2 separate regions of the Homo sapiens genome follow, and region 2 is linked to region 1. The links are contacts of gene promoters, found by promoter capture Hi-C in human tissues and cell types (Jung and others, 2019). All regions are on one chromosome and are shown on one strand. The core of a region is centred on a gene start or on the middle of the fragment in contact, and the rest is flanking DNA. Distances in the headings are between cores, read along the strand shown.

What was found. Contacts are between HindIII fragments. The study calls those that stand out against the background at their distance.
Region 2: a contact is called between a fragment that was not itself captured here and the fragment with the promoter of OR56B4 in region 1, in 2 of the 25 tissues and cell types used here (mesendoderm cells and spleen).

Annotation. Positions count from the first base shown.
Region 1 is chr11:6,106,288-6,109,011 of GRCh38, reverse strand. It overlaps OR56B4 (olfactory receptor family 56 subfamily B member 4), which reads right to left and starts at 1,328. Exons shown (of 1, transcript NM_001005181.2): 1 at 177-1,328. The coding sequence starts at 1,233. The coding sequence ends at 274. The region is part of intron 2 of LOC124902622 (a long non-coding RNA gene); the gene reads left to right. The HindIII fragment of the contact is 6,854 bases long and covers 1-2,724 here.
Region 2 is chr11:6,299,491-6,302,190 of GRCh38, reverse strand. No RefSeq gene overlaps it. Among named protein-coding and RNA genes, the nearest start is that of CAVIN3, 20 kb to the left of the region's middle. The HindIII fragment of the contact is 4,182 bases long and covers 1-2,700 here.

The DNA of each region.
Region 1 (2,724 bases), core at 79-2,578:
TACCAGTTGTGTAGGAAAGTGTTAATCTCGGGGTAGGCTAGCAGTAATAGTTAGAAACATTTCACTTTTTTGTTCTTACTTATTTTCCAGGTAATAGGAAATTTTCTTGTAATTTTAATATACATATTTTGATTAGTGAGGCTGACAGTTTTCATGATTTTATTGGCCATTTTTTTCCTAGGGAGTGTGGTAAGTGCAGATTATAACCCTGATCTATTGAGAACTAAAACCTCTGTCATTTCCTAACATCTTACTGGATTCCTAAAGCTGGAGTTACTTGGACACGTCCTGACCCAGTCCAAGCAGTCTCTGAAAGCCCAGTCTGAGTTTGTGCATCCTGAGTGCACAGGCCAGGGGGTTGAGTGCAGGGGGGATGACATTGTGCAGCACATTAAGGAACACAGGAATAAGGGGAATCTTTTTCTCTGCAAGGTGTGTGACAGACAGCACAATGATACCTGTGTGGAAGAGGATGAGGATGAGGTGGGAGCTACAAGTGCTCAGAGCCTTGGACATTGCTTCTGCTGAGTTCAGCCTCAGCACAGAGTGAAGGATTACAGCATAGGAAGAAAATACCAGAGCCATATCACTCCCAACCAAGACCCATGCTAGCATCAGTTGGTAAAATTTGTTCACAGTGATGTCATCACAAGCCAGGCTGATAACCCCCAAGTTAGAGCAGAGGCAGTGCTCGATTTCATTCCTGGAACAGTAGTGTCTCTGGGCAGCCAGTATAGGCACTGGGATGGTCAACAGGCCATTCCTGAGCATGATGAACCCTGTGGCTTTGAAGACAAAAGCTTTAGTGACTATGGAGGGGTACTGAAGAGGGCGACAGATGGCTATGTATCTGTCTACTGCCATGCAGAGAAAGATGCCTGACTCTATGCAGAAGAAGCAGTGGATGGCATAGATCTGAGCAAAACACATGGGGAGGCTAATGGCCTTGGCATCAAACCAGAAGATGGCCAGGATCTTGGGCATGATGGTGGTGGCCAGGCCAATGTCCACCACTGCTAATATGCCCAGCAAATGGTACATGGGTTCATGTAGCACGGTCTCATGTTGAATGGTGATTATGATGAGGAGATTGGCACCAAGAGCTAAGAGGTAGAGCAGAGTCAGGGGCAGGGAGAGCCAGTGCTGCCACTCATGAATGCCTGGTAATCCCATCAGGATGAACTGGGAAATCTGGAGGCTGGAGTCATAGGTAACACTGGTGGAGGTATCCATGGAATGGGTGCCTCAGTCTCAGTGTCTGTCTGAAATAGAAGAAATCTCTGTTTAAAAGTTCAGCTAAGGGGCTGAGCATCGTGGTTCATGCCTGTAATCCCAGCACTTTGGGAGGCTGAGACAGGCAGATAATTTGAGGTCAGGAGCTCGAGACTGACCTGGCTAACATGGCAAAATCTCATCTCTGCGGAGAATACAAAAATTAGCTGGGTGTGGTGGTGCCTGTCTGTAATCCCAGCTACTTGGGAGGCTGAGGCATGAGAATCATTGAACCTGGGAGGCGGAGGTTGCCGTGAGCCGAGATTGTGCCACTGCACCCCAGCCTGGACAACAGAGTGAGACCCTGTCTTAAAAAACAAAACAAAACAAAAAGTTAAGTGTCTTGGTAAGAGCTCCTCAATAATGAACCAGCTCCTTTTATTCATGAATGACCCTCAACTTTATTTGACTTCTGGAAATATTCCACAGAGGAATAACAAAAAAAGCAAAAAAATTCTAAACAGAAGAGTTGGAATAACTATTTTTCATCACCACTTGTATGTCTAATAAGCATGTCCACATATATTAACAACAGTCTTATCACTAACAGATAACAAATGTTAGTATTTGATTTATTTCCAATTTTCTATTTTATTTTTAAACAGTCTACATCATTATCTAGAGATGATTTTGTATCTTGTTTTTGTCTTTTAGCAGTATGTGTTAAGATGTAATATAAGCACTCAAAAATTTTATTTCATGGATGAATACATTAACCAAAGACTTCACAATATTATTTAAAAAGTGTGATGTTAATTTTAATTGCTGCTTTAAATTTTTGCATTTGGCTATTCTATAATTTACTGACAGGTATTTTGCTTTTAATATTGTTTTCCTTGAGTAGAGTTTCAAAAGTGATGCAAAAATTATATATACAAAGGATATAATAGTCTTAAAATTTTAAATATAATTTTGATTTTATTTTAAGATATATTATCTATACATGGTAAAAATCAAAATAAAATGAAAAATATAAACAATGAAAAGTAAGACTCTCATGCTTGGGGCTTTGAAATCTTTTTCCTTTTCACTAGAGGCAGCCAGTAATATGTTTCTTGGGAATCCTTCCATTAATAGTTTATGCATGGATAAAAACATATATATATATATATATATATATATATAATTTTCATAAAAGACATAATCAATTGTTAGCACACCTTTCTCCTTTTTTCTTTCCTTTTCTTTTTTAACTTAATATTTTGAAGACTGCTCCATATTTCCATACTGCAGTTAAGTTGCATTATTTTCTACCACCTAGATGCCCTATAGTTTAATGATTTTTTTTTGTATTTTTAGAATTGATATATCATATTTGTAGATATTTTGGAGGTACATGTGATATTTTGATACATGTATACAATGTGTAATGATCGAATCAGTGTAATTAGGATATCCATCACCTCAAGCATTTATCTTTTCTTTGTGTTAGGAACATTGCAATTCTCTTTT
Region 2 (2,700 bases), core at 60-2,559, 190 kb before region 1:
CTTTTCCGTGTGTACAACTTAACTATTGCCTCTGGAACGACAAGAGGCAGCATATGGATTTTTGCTTTTGTGGGGATGGTTTTACAAGTAATTCCAGTAGGTTACTCTGCTACGGTGCTTGACAGCAGCACCCTGGAGGGCCATACCCCTTCCTCCTTGCTTCCCTGAATATTTGAGATGTGCACAGCCTGCCGAGCAGGTGTGTAAGACTCATTCTCAGGCGGTACTTGTCAGCAGAGGGCTTTTTAGACCCATCAGGAGGATATCTTGCAGGGGCTCTTAGTGGTATTGTGTTTCCAAAAAGAAGGGTGATGGAGTGGGGGTACATCTGTTGAGCCAACAGTTATAATTAGTCATGGTAGATTTTAAAAAGAGCTGTGTATTTAGAATTCACATTTATGATGTGGTCTCTCTTGTTCTGGCAAGATACATTCTGAATTATGTAAAGGATTCTGAGATTCTGGATGTGCTGAATGTGGAAAAGCATTGTTCAATTACATTCTTATCATGGGCCCTGTTCATTACACATCCACAATCACCATGTCCACAGTGTCCGTGGAAATTGGGTTTTCACATAATTTTCCACAGCTGTTTTCTAATTTGATACCCTTAAATGACACTGTAACTCCCTGTATGATGACTGCCAGAACCTAAAGCCCCCAGGCAATTTTCTAAAGAAACATTGATAATAAATATTGGGGTGGTAGCCCGATAAATAGCATCTCTGTTCCCTAATAAAGTTGGAATAGAAGTATGTGGCAACAGTAGACTTCCCAATCCTGAACTCCTCTGGTATCAGAGAGATTTGCCAAGTTATAGTCTGACCTGAAAAACCAGAGTCAAGCAGCCATCAGCACTACCGCTCTGTAGATAGGAAGATTCCCAGAGGGAGAGAAAGAGGGCAGGAGGACAGGGCTGGGCCACACACACCCAGTTCCCCTTTCAAGTCAGGCAATTCACTTGAGAGGCATAAGACCTAGGGTCAGAGGGTTTAGGGAAAAATCCTTCTCATGAAAGCAATAGGTACTGCAAAGGAGCCTTCCTCTACTAACACTATTTTCTCAATTTTCCAGAAATTTCTTTTCCCCAGCTCAAAATAGCTTTGTCCTAAATTAGATGATCCAGAAACAAAGGACTGAGTCATGATAGGCTGTATATCAAACTGTTAACAATGACACACTTGTGTAAAACTTTTTAATTTGTTTTGTTCTTTTTTTTTTTTTTTTTTCAGAGACGGATTCTCACTCTGTCGCCTAGGCTGGAGTGCAGTGGCCGATCTCGGCTCACTGAAACCTCCGCCTCCCGGGTTCAAGCGATTCTGGTGCCTCAGCCTCCTGAGTAGCTGGGATTACAGGCCAGTGCCACCATGCCTGGCTAACTTTTTTGTATTTTTAGTAGAGATGGGGTTTTGCCATGTTGGCCAGGATGTTCTCGAACTCCTGACCTCAGGTGATCCGCCTGTCTCAGCCTCCCAAAGTGCTGGGATTACAGGCATGAGCCAACTCGCCTGGCTTGTTTTGTTCTTTTTACTTACTTTGGCTCATCTGTCACAGAAGTCCTCTGCTAAACAAAGATGTTTGTGGATGTTTCTTCCCTGAGCAATAATTAAACAAAGTTTTTCAAATTGTCAAAATCATTCTAGCATTCTGGGGGATGCCCTTAACCTTGATGATGGACTTTCCAGCTACTAACTTGGGGCTTTATGACTCAGAAACTTGACATGTTCCCAAGGTAACATTAACTTCTGGGTTTGTTTATTAACCGTCCTAAGAAAAGGTCTCACTCTCTGCTGTTAGGAATACATGTTTTGATAATGACGGTGGTCCTACACACACTCAAGCAAGCCATAAATACCCAGGAGGGCATATACTGTGGTGAAAGATGAAGGCCTTTTTTCTGAACTGGACAAGTATCCTCAGCATTTTTCCAGCAAGCCATTATCATTACCGTCATCTATGCATTGACAATAGGATATATTAGCCATCGCTAAAGTGGGGTGCACAATCTCAGGGGCTACTCAGGACAGCCTTTTGAAATTTCCATTTTGATGATGAGATACCTGGTACAACTTCTCAGCACATTACAATGTCTGCCAAAATAGTGTCAGGACACCTCAGTCAATAGAACAGAAAAAACACCAAGTGCTTCTGAACAGGGATGTCATCATAAAGCTTCTAGAAAGTTTCTGCGCTAGGTTGCTGGGAAAGTCGCCAGACTGGGCTGCCTCAAAAGTCTCTGATACTTTGCCTTAAAGTCTCTAGGCCCTCTGTGGCTAAAACAAAGACGGGGACAAGCCATTAAAGGATAATTTAGTTCTAAGTAGCCATTAAAAGATAATTTTCATAAACAGGTAAGATCAGTACTCTTATACAGATATAAGAATAAACATGAGTTAAAGTTTTTATTTAACTAATTCATGAGGAAAGCAGTGAAGTATTACAACCAGGTGAAAGGAGAATCCCAAGGACAGACACATTTATAGATCCGGAATATTAAAATGACTGTGCAAATACAGCCAGATGGGGTTTTTTTTGTTGTTGTTGTTGTTTTACCGGACAGCATTCATTTGCATATCTATAGACAAGAATGATTTAGCATTGCTGCCAGTTATCTACACTTTATAGAGCTGCAAAACAGCTCCCACAGAATTGGAATCAGACAAGTCAGGTGTGCTCTGGAATGACAACACGTAATTTTCAA